Linked DNA regions of Homo sapiens: regions 2 and 3 are each linked to region 1. Evidence: promoter capture Hi-C in human tissues and cell types (Jung and others, 2019). All regions are on one chromosome and are shown on one strand. The core of a region is centred on a gene start or on the middle of the fragment in contact, and the rest is flanking DNA. Distances in the headings are between cores, read along the strand shown. Region 1 holds the start of IPO13 (importin 13). Region 2 overlaps ERI3 (ERI1 exoribonuclease family member 3). Region 3 has its middle 5.0 kb from the start of RNF220.

Evidence for each region. Contacts are between HindIII fragments. The study calls those that stand out against the background at their distance.
Region 2: a fragment that was not itself captured here is called in contact with the fragment with the promoter of IPO13 in region 1 in 1 of the 25 tissues and cell types used here (hippocampus).
Region 3: a fragment that was not itself captured here is called in contact with the fragment with the promoter of IPO13 in region 1 in 2 of the 25 tissues and cell types used here (adrenal gland and aorta).

The regions. Positions count from the first base shown.
Region 1 is chr1:43,944,713-43,948,261 of GRCh38, reverse strand. It overlaps IPO13 (importin 13), which reads right to left and starts at 1,312. Exons shown (of 20, transcript NM_014652.4): 1 at 578-1,312. The coding sequence starts at 661. It overlaps LOC101929609 (a long non-coding RNA gene), which reads left to right and starts at 1,663. Exons shown (of 2, transcript NR_188535.1): 1 at 1,663-1,781; 2 at 3,466-3,549. RefSeq lists a silencer at 1,267-1,516. The HindIII fragment of the contact is 10,546 bases long and covers 1-3,549 here.
Region 2 is chr1:44,344,953-44,348,843 of GRCh38, reverse strand. The region is part of intron 2 of ERI3 (ERI1 exoribonuclease family member 3); the gene reads left to right. Among named protein-coding and RNA genes, the nearest start is that of ERI3, 8.4 kb to the left of the region's middle. The HindIII fragment of the contact is 5,311 bases long and covers 1-3,891 here.
Region 3 is chr1:44,398,439-44,401,994 of GRCh38, reverse strand. No RefSeq gene overlaps it. Among named protein-coding and RNA genes, the nearest start is that of RNF220, 5.0 kb to the left of the region's middle. The HindIII fragment of the contact is 5,699 bases long and covers 1-3,556 here.

The DNA of each region.
Region 1 (3,549 bases), core at 63-2,562:
GAGCCCTGTAAGGCTCCCAGCAGGGCCAGGACCCTTGGACTCAGCACAAAACAAAGGGAGACAGCCCCAGGCCTGCCTGCTCAGGACTGGTCTGGCTTCCATCCAATAAAGGAAGGACCCTTCTCCAAAGAGTCAAAACAACCCAGATTGTTTTAGTTCCAGATTATTTTCTGAGCCCTTGGCTCAACAAAACCAGGTCCAGGATGGTTTGGCATCAGTATAATTCCAGGAGACTGAGCTGCAGGTCTCCTGGGTTCCCAGTTTCCTACTGCACTGCTCATGCAGTTCCCATGGAGCTGGAACATAGCCAGTCTGGACGGAAGGCTAAGTCACAGCACCCTGAAGGGACCATCCCAAGACCCTAGAGTATCTATCCACAGGGGACCTGCCTGTAAGGAAAGACAAAAATAGCCCATTAGGGCACTGCAATACTGCCTGCCCAGAAAGAGAGCAAATGCCAGGTGCTCTGGGGGCACCATACCAGCGGGCACCCAGCCCAGGCCTGAGCTCTGCCATCAGTGACAGTCCCCAGAACTTCTGCTCTGTCACTGGAGTGCCCACCCCAGAGCCCTCATACCTTCTCCACGTTCTCCACAGTGAAGTCCAAGGCTGGTGCTGCTCCAGCCCCTGCAGCCCCCGGCTGCTCCTCCCGCCGCTCCATCTTTGCTCCCTCCCTGGCAGGGAGGTGGGCCCTGATCTGTCTCCTGCCCCAGCCCCTTGGCTGCTGGCCCCCTGCTAGACCCCGGCTTGGGTGCCCAGGGAGTGGTGGGGTGAGGGGGGGCCCAGGGCGGGCATGGCTGCCGAGGCCTCCCCACCTCGTTTGGGGGTGGGAGGCTTGCCAGAGACCAAAATTGGTGCTCTTAGGAGACCCAATGAAGGGGACTCCGAGGAGGGAGCCGTCAGTGAGGAGCTCTCAGGCGGGGATCCTAGTGGCAGGTAACAGCTCTGTCCCCAGAATCTGTGTGGAGGGAGTCACAGGGGAGGGAGGCCTGCGGGGGAAACCGAGTCCCTGGCTCTTGAGGGGTCACAGGGTCGATGGCCTGTACCCACAACACCCCCGCCTGGGTGAGCTCTCGGCTGCTATGAACAGGTCATGGGGCTGGAGGGTCACGGGAGAGAGAGAGCCCTTCGTGGTTACGGAGGCGTCCAACGAAGCGCGGAGATGCAGCTCCGCTAGTCTAGGGCGAAGAGTCCGTGGAGTTGAGGGGCTGTGGCAGGTCCCTTCCGTTCGGCCTGGCCCGCGCTGTGCTCAACGCCCGGCTACAGCCCCGCTACAGCCGCTGCCTCCGCCCCAGTGACTGACAAGACAAGCCAGGCCGGCCGGGACGGGGCAGGGACCTCGGCAAGGCGCGGGCTGCCCCGAGCGCCTGTCCCCGGCACCTCCAACTCAGGCCCCCACTCCTGCCAGTTCTGGCTCGGCACGGCCCGGTACAGGCCGGCACGGCCCAGCGGAACTGCGCGGAAACTCATTCCGGGTCCTTAGCCCTGTCCTCGCGCCAGCTCGCACTCCCCTGAGCAGGCGGTGGAGCGGCTCGCCGCCCCAGGCCGCGGCCGAGTCTAGGCCCCGCCGCTGTTCACCCTGGGAAATGTAGTCCGTGTTGCGCCTAGCCGGAAGGCGGCGCCCTGCGGAGGAGGCCGGGAGCACGTGGGTTGGGGACCTGCAGAGCCCCGCCTGTCCTCGGCCTACCGCGGCGAGCAGGCATTCCGGGTCAGACCGGCGCGGGGCGCTGCGGCCCAACTCCTTAGTAGGACGACGTGACTCGAGGGGCCGGAGGACGGAGGTGGGAGCCCGGGCTAGAGGGTGGAGGCTGGGGAGGTTGCCTGGTCACTCTGGCGCTCCGCTGCCGGGGGCATCCTCCGGCCCAGCAAAGGTGCAGCCTGGGAAGAAGGCGTCAGCACCACCCAGAGAAGAGGAGAGGGGACTTGGCACGCCTCAGGAAGGAAAAAAGGAAGGCTCTCGGGACCACCCAATAAGCAACCGGGAAACCACATACCATGGACAGTGCTCGGGGAATTTCGTAAGGTTTTTGGAAGTAACTTTATGTGTAACTAGAGTAAGAGTAGCTTACATTTAAGTGCTAGGAGCAGGACTTTGCTTACCTTAGGTTCAGTTTTCTTAATAGCTCTGAGGTGGATATTTTTATTCATCATTTTCAGATGAGATGAGGAAATCGAGCTTGGGGAAAGTTAGGCTTATCTTGCCCCTGGCACACAGACAGGGTGGCAGACCATGCCATAGATCTGGTCTGCCACAGGCCCCGGTAGTTCCTGCCTGTCACCCCTCCAGTTGTATTTTATTGTTTATTAACTCCTGCCAGCTACCCTAGCAGGGAAGAGGAAAAAATTAAAAGTGCAAAGAGCTCCGTAGTTTTGTTCAAATGGAGGAAGCTGGCATTGGAAGCTGGCATTGGCAGCAGCTGCTGAGGCCTGAGAAGGTCCATGAAGGCTTCCCTGAGAAGAGAAACTTGATCTGAGCTTGAAGAATAGAGAGCCTGGGAAGGAGAGGGGCCCATTTAGCTGGTAAGCAAAATCCAGTAGGACTCTAAGTCATTCAGCAAGTCTTCATCAATAAAGAATAGCAAGTAGGCCGGGCGCGGTGGCTCACGCCTGTAATCCCAGCACTATGGGAGGCTGAGGCGGGCGGATCACGAGGTCAGGAGATCGAGACCATCCTGGCTAACACGGTGAAACCCCGTCTCTACTAAAAATACAAAAAATTAGCCGGGCATGGTGGCAGGCACCTGTAGTCCCAGCTATTCGGGAGGCTGAGGCAGGAGAATGGCTTGAACACGGGAGGTGGAGCTTGCAGTGAGCTGAGATCACGCCACTGCACTCCAGCCTGGGCGACAGAGTGAGACTCCGTCTAAAAAAAAAAAAGAAAAGAAAAGAAAGAATAGTAAGTAATTTATATTCATTTTAAGAGAATATATGTGGGGTGGGGAAGGGGAAGGGTATGAGTAACAGAGATGAGGTTGGAAAGACAAGTTGGTGGCAATAGATTCTTGTAGGAGTTTGGACATTATCCTAAGTGCAATATGAAACCATGATGGGGTTTCAAGTGAGCAATGATGATTACATTTGCATTTTAGAAAAATCTGCAACATGAAAGACAAATTGAAGGAAGAAAGAGAGGCAGGAGACATTTGGAAGGAGGAAATAGAAAGCCAAAATAAAGTAACTGATTCCAGGCCTGTGCCTAGGGTGTGAAATACCTTGGGCCTGGTGCTGGCTGGCGGTTTCACTGGTGGAGGTGGTGGTGGGCAGGGGAGATGGTGTTGGGAGTGGGGTTTAAATGCACAAATTCTGGACTTAGTCCTGAGTTCAAAACCTGTTTATGCCTCTTTCTAGCAATGAGACCTTAGCTTCTTCTGAAACTCATTTTAGTTAAGGGGTTTTAGGGGTGGGGGGCTCAGCCCAGAGACCACAACTTAGTCAGTATGTGTTTTCTTCCTGCTTCCCATCCAGGGCTCCTCCTCATCCCTGGAGGTTCCAGGGATCTGGCAGAGAAAGAAGCCCAGTCTCACAGCAATGACTCCTGAACATCCTTTG
Region 2 (3,891 bases), core at 1,117-3,616, 400 kb before region 1:
AGGTACTGTCAAAGCTAGGGCAGATTTGCCATCCAGATGAAAGTGTGTTAGTTTATTGCTGTGATTTCACTTTCCTTGAGTGAGAGGTGCATAGTCATTGCAGAACTGCAGTCTGATGCATGCCGTGTCCAGATCTACTAGGTTTGATTTGGGTCCCACATTATCCATTTGGTTCTGTTGGGTTTTAATTAATGATTGCTAGAACCAGAACTGTTGGGAAGCAGACTCCCTTTTGGATCATTGTTTTTAGGCTTTCCTCTTTGGGGACATTCCTTGAGGAGCCTTGGGTTACCAGGGATTGCTTTGATGTGTTCAAAATTGTGCCTTGTGCCCCACAGCTACAGGTAAAATCAAAAGGCGGATAATTTATGGGAGTGTCAGAGCTGGCCGCTGGCACCTCAGGAGGCCATTAGTATGCCTGTTCAGACCCTCTGTGTCCTTGCAATTGATTCCTCTTTGCATGAGCCTGATTTGGGAAGCTGTAGATCTGTGGGTAGTGATTGGATGTGACAGTCCAAACACTGGTCCCTAAATTAATCCTTTTAATGGTATTCCGGCACCAAGGCAATTCTCTCTCTCCCTGTCTGTCTCTCTGTGTCTCTCACTCTTTCTTTCACTCTTTTTCGCTCTTTTTAACTAGGGAGGACAGAATGGGGTGGGCTAGGAGGAAGGATAAAGAAAGGAAGAGAAGAAGCTTTGTTTGCTGCTTAGGCCCTGCTCTGTTCTAATTAGCATGTTCTAATTCCAGAGCAGTTGGCATCATGACTGTGGGCATATTAATTCATTTAGCAAACATTTACTCTTGCTTACTTTGTGCCTGGTCCTGTGCTGGGTGCTGGGAATACAGAGGAATAAAATGTGGTCCTTACCCTTAGGGATCTAGCTCAGTGTTTCTCAGGCTTTAAAAACTCTGAGACTTAGCACAGTTTAGATTAAAACACACACACACACACACACACACACAACAAAACAATCTCATGCTCTTCTTTAATGCTATTTGAAATTTTGAAATGCATTAGTCTAACAAGCAAGTCAAAGAATTATGTCAAATATGCTTTTTTTTTTTTTAACACATGCACACATTCACCTATACTGCTGTCTTCTATCCTTCTTCCTTAACTCTTTGAAAATTACTGGTAGTAGAAGAAACATACCTAATATCTTACAACATAGTGAGATAAAAGTTATGAAGTAGGAATAAACTGTGCCACTGGATCATACTTAAACAATTAGCTTTATGATGGAGTGTCAGAGAAAGCCACCAAAAGGGGGGAGATTTGAGCTGGATTTTAAGGAAGGAGTCATAATTTGTCTGGCAAAAAATGGAAGTGCATTCCAAAATAGGGAGCAGCGTTTGCCAAAGCACAAATTTGTAAAAGGAAACGTCACATTTGGGTACTTGAGTAAGAATTGGTTATAACCCTGCCTCCTGCCAGTTTCCACTCTGTAAGATGGAAAGATTTGCTCCTGTGGAATTTTGTTTGAGAAGAGACTTCGAGTTCCTTGTGCTGCCGTTCTTTTAATTCTGCTCTTGTGCTCAGGCCTGTAATTTTTCTTTTTAAATATAAAAAAATATGAAAACTAGTTAGGATGATTTGGATAGACTTAATTATTGCTTAAGGTTGAGTTACTTTTAGTTAAAGTTACACTTTGCCTCAAAAGAAAAACTGCAGTTGATATGCATTGTTGGTCCTCTGTCGGATGGAGGGAATCAGTCATGTGGGGAAATGTGGGCCATCACACGTGGTAGAGAACAGGGCCCCAAAGAGCTGAGCACCTCCGAGCCCTTAGTTTCCTCATGTGTGATATGCGAATATTCTTACCCATTCTGCTTGATACTTGGGAGGATTAAATAAAATATGTAAATCATCGATACAATGCCTGGCTTGGAGTAGATTTTCAGAAAAGGGTGTTTGCTTTTTCTCTTTCTCATGTAGTAACAGCTCCCTTTTATTGAGCGCTTGCTATTGTGCAAAGCACTTTTTGTACATCGCACGGTTGAATTGAATCCCAAAGACATAGGTATTATTATTATTATAGCTATTATTACAAATAATTTGTAGTAGAGTCAGGATTTGAACCTAGGTTTGTCTATTACCAGTGTTTTAACACTAGATTATATAACTCCTTGCTTTTACAGCAGTTCCCCATCTTGGGACCAGGAGTATAGGAAGTATTTAACAGTTCTGGGTACCTCTCTTCTGGGATCAGATGCTGTCTACAAATGTGAGAGGTGCTTAAAGGGATGATGCTACCATACCCTGCCCTCCATCCATCTCTAGTCTATTTATGGTGTGTTAGGAAGCAAGGCTTTGCCCCTTCTCGTGTGTGATGAGGTTGCAACTGACTTGCAGGACTTTGCAAAAAGATGTCTTCAAGCTTTGGCCGCTGAAAGGAGTTTGCCCAAGCTACTGGGCATGGCTGCTGGGTTAGCAAACAGCAGGCAAATCACAAACAATTGCCTCTTTTTATGTGTTTCTTGGAGCTGCTGAAACAGACCAGTTGAAGGGGAGAGCAAGCCTGCTGTGACCTATGATGTTGCCCTCAGAATTTGGTGTTCCTGAAGATCTTTAGTGATTTTAGCTCTGCTGGTAGTTTGGGATTATTAGCAGCTGCTTCTGAGTTGGGGGAGCTCTCCATAGCTGTGCCTTGGAGCAGAAGCAGCTGTAGCTACAGGCCAAGGCAGGGACTGAGTGTAGAGAAGAGGAGACTGTTTTGTTGAGGTGAGGACTCAGTTTTAGAGTTCCTGCTTCCTTTCCGCATTGGGACCATGTGGAGCTTCCAGGGCATGTCAAGCTTTGTTTTGTCTTCAACCTCTAGCCTTCAACAAACTAGACAGAGTCCTCAGGCTCTTGGCCTCTTCTGTGAGACTGCATAGCTTGGGAAATGACTAGTGAGGCCTTTTCCTTGTGTTGGAGCAGTAGCCTGAGACCCTGGCCTTGGAGTTGAGAGCCTGGGTTCTATTCTTACTATTTCTTGCAGTGTGAACCTTGGGCAGTCCTTTTCTCTTTCTAATCTCATTTTCCCTGGCTGGTTGGACTGTGTTGCCTCTTAGGTTTTCTTTCACCTTTGACAGTTTGTTTTTCACACAGAGAGTGCTCTGGCAGTAAGGATATATTCATTAGATTGAAGATTATGACTTTTGAAGGGATGCAGTTTATTTGTATTTTTTCCCAGGCTATTTTTAGCTGCTTGAGACAAAGCCAGTGACTGAGTTCCAGACAGGTATTACTGTGTTTTTTGTTGTTGTTTCTGTGACTCAGGTGCCTGAGCACTTGTGATACTGCAGGTCAGATTGGGTTGGGGACTTACACCAGGACTGAGAACTGAGGAAGCTATGATTGTTGTATTCCTAGGTGCTTTCAGTCAGCTGGACTCAGAACCTGTTGCAGGTAACTTGGAGTTACTTGGATGTATCCCTGCCTCCTAGTCTGGCTTTTAATGGAATGAATTGAATCCAGGGGTGGTATAAACATACACCATCCCAGAGATCCCAAGTACATGTGGCTGGGGAGGTGGAAGTGGGAGTAGACCACCTGTTTCACAGTGGCCTCCTCTTGTTTTCCCATCCTGAGGACTCCCTTGGCCTGTGTGTGTGGATGTTAAAGGTTGACCCCCTCTGCTCACCCCTCCAGTAATGGAGGCTATAAAATGTCTATTTACCCAAGACACCAGAACGACTCCTCTGTGGTTCCTCTAATCTGGTGATTTGGTGCTTCTTTGGTCTCTCAGGTAAATACAGATTGAGTCTTTTTATAAAGGCATATTATTTCCCTCATTAAATGTGTGTTTTGGCACATGTGTTATTTACCTGATAGACAGTAATGGCTGCAGAGGAGCCATTGGTGTCTGTTGTGTAAATACTCTGCACAGAGACCATCCTCCAGGGGC
Region 3 (3,556 bases), core at 183-2,682, 450 kb before region 1:
CCCTCCTAGGAGAATTACACAAGCCTTCATTCAGAGCCGATTTATTCTTTCTTAGGTACAATTCTAATAAGCTTGATTATTTGGCTTTCCCATTCACAGCTGATTAAGATTGTCAAATTAAAAGGGGGCAGCCATTAAAAAGAATGATATAGACTAGGATGTATTGACATAGAAGGATACCTATTATATACTGTCGAGTGAGAAAAGCAAGTCATACAACAGTATGTACAATATGATTTGATATTTGTCCGTATACGTGTACACACACATTGACAGAAAAAGGCCTGTAGGGATACATTAAACCGTTAACAATGGTTATGGCTAGGGAGTGAAAGTGTGGACGTGACAGGGTGGGGGGTTAGACAGGAATGAAGGGAGGACTTTGACTTTTTACTCCATAGACTTCTGTTTGTTTTCAGTGAACATATATTAGTTTTGTAATTTTAATATCCGTTAAAACGTATATAAAAAGAGCAAAGGGTAGTGTTGTTAGAGCAAGAACACTGACAATGAGAAATGGTGACCGAACTATAAGAAGCAAGCACCATAACTCAAAAACTACAACAAAATAGGGTTATTTGGTGTGAAGGCAAAAAGCCCTATCCCATCAGTGCTCCCAGCGGATGTCATGAATTCCAACCAAACATATCCTGATACTTTTGGGGATAGGTCATCAAGGAACACATTACACTTAGTATATTTTACTTATGAGAGTAAGCACACGTGTGAAAATATAGAAAAATAAATTCCTACCAAAATGATTTAAACAGAAGATTTTGATACTTTAAGAAGTAAATTTCAGTTGTCTGGAAAATATACTTTTGTGTAACACATCATTCCCTGAAGATGAGAAGTAAAGGAGATATCACTTTATATAAGAACAGAGGTGATGCAGAGTAAGGAATGGTCCACAAATTCAACAAACATTTATTGAGTGTCTACCAAGTGCCAGTCACTAAGAATAGAAAGATAAATAATAGTGCCTGCCCTAGAGAGGTTTATAGTCCAACAGCAGAGATGGATTGGAAAGCAAATACATATGGCACAATGAAAGCAGTGCTATAATGGATATTCTGAGTATAGGGTGGTAGAAACACAAAAGAAGGAGGTGCTGAGTCTGCCTGGAGCTATTAGGAAAGGAGGCAGAGACAGAAGTGGGTGTTTTAAAAAATAACTATCATATGGGATGACATTTAAGCTTCGTTAAAAATGACTGTTATATGGAATGACACTTAAGTTGGGCTTTGAAGGATAAGTAGTTTATCAAGGGAGAAAAATAGGAAGAGCACTCCAGGATGAGCAAATAGCGTATGCAAAGGCACATGAAATTTCCTGCCACATTCCGATAGTACATCTCAAATTTTTCCTCAAGAAAGAGGTGGTGCAGGTGGTGATGTCTAAGGGCAAGCCTAAAATGGCTTGCCACTAGCTTGAAATTTATGTATCCTGTTTTATCTTGAAAAATGAATGAAAATTTTGCCTTCAATTCCACAAATATATTAAGCTTTAATATAAAACCATGTTTTAAATTACTTATCATTTGATAGAACTGATGCTCCAGAAAGATGCACCACATTTATTTGGTGCTTTCTCACATCCAAAGCACAACACTAAATAAACCAGGGGCATTCATTCCTAATTTGAAAAACATTCAGAAATTGGGCTGGGAGCTGAAAAAAAAGATGTAGAAGATATAAGGGGAGACTGGAAAAATAGATTAATGGACTGTGAAAGATCTTGTTTGTCACATTAAGGAACTAACTGGACACTCCCAGTGTCTAGCCAACTCCTATTTATACTTCAAGACTTTGTTTGGGATGGACTCTTCCAGGAAGCCACCCTGCCCACCAGCCTCTCTTCTCCTCAAATCTGATTATCATAGCAGTCTATGCATGCATCTATTCATTTATCACATTGTACTGGAATTATCGATTGTTTTCAGATTCCTCTAATAGACTCTGATCTGCTTAAAGCAGAATTCTGTCTTAGTTGTTTTGCGTGGTACTTAGCACAACAGATACTGGTGTCTGTCGGACTCAACTGATTTAGATAAAAGGACAAGATTCAGAAAGTACTACCTGGTCTAGATTCTAAAGCTTCTTGAAGGTAGGGCCTGCTTGCGTACCACTGCATCCCAAACACTTCACACTCACTGGAAACATCCAGTAGGTGATTGATAAAAAGTGCAGAATGAATGAGTGAAAATTCTCAAAACAGGAATGACATGATCAGATCAGGGTTTAGAAAAATAAAATTGGAGGCAATTTTAAATGTAGACTGGAGACGAGTAAGACTGGAGACAAAGAAATTAGGGAGAAAAAATGCAAAAGATACATAGGACAAATTGGTAAAAGATTGCCTTTTCTTAAAAATGTTTTTCTAATTGGCTAATTTGATTAGATGTTTATATTTATGTTACAAGACTGGTCTTTTTATTCTCTTAGGATTTCCTGATGGAGGATATTCAGTTGCCTTGTTCCCTGACCCCAGCTGCCTTCAGGCTGGTGTCTTCTTGTACATCTGGAGGTCACTGAGGGCAGTGACTATGTCTTATTCATCTTAGTATCTCCAATGCCTAGGACATGCCTGCTCAATAAATGTTTGCTGAATGAATGAACACATAAATTGATCTATTAGTATACTGTACTCAAGCTCCGACCAAGACACAGAGGACCTAATGATCCCCAGTGTGTGGGTTTCTGGATACAGGAAACAGAACAAATAAAGCAAGACTGGATACAAATGCACACCTATTCCACAGGTAACACAGGGTAAATTTCTCTCTCTGACCCTTCCATCCTCATTCTGAAGAATAACTCTCATTGAGTGAAAATCAATAAAAGTCATTTTAAGGGAAGTAGGTTTAGAAAAAGGCCCTGAAGGAGGAGCAAGGAGGAGGGGAACTTCAAGTTTGAGCAATCTGGACTTTTAAAATATATATATAAGGACTTGTAAGCTTCAAAAAACCTTCACAAAATAAAAAGTCTGCTTTTCTACACTCACTTTCAAAAGGAATCTCCCTCATCTATGCCCAACACATAAACCAGGAGACTTTTTGAGATTTCCAGTTTTATCACCCAAAAAGAAAAAATAAATTCACAGTAGAAATAATAAATCCTCCATTTTTCATATTGACTCCAACAAGAAACTTTCTGAAGTAGTTGCAGGTAGCTCCCAAAGACAGTCAGCCAATATCAATGCCAAGATTGACCGTCTGGCAATCTAGCAACAAATATTTACTGACTACATACTATGTATGAATCAAGGCAGTAGGAAGAAGCTGTAAAAGATGCCCACCCCATCCCCCCAAAAAGGCACAAAATGCACTTCCTATCCCCTAAGAAGCTTGTAGAATTGTAGCATTAACTCATAATCAAAAGAAAGGTTAAATAAACCCAAATTCAATTTTATAATGCAGATAAAATATATCAAATGGGTAATACAGGCAAATTGTTGCAGGTTTTCAAAAGCCAGAGAAACCATCATGGTTTGAGATGTCCTTAAGTGTTTTGGACAAAGATAAGATTTTTATTATTATTATTATTATTATTATACT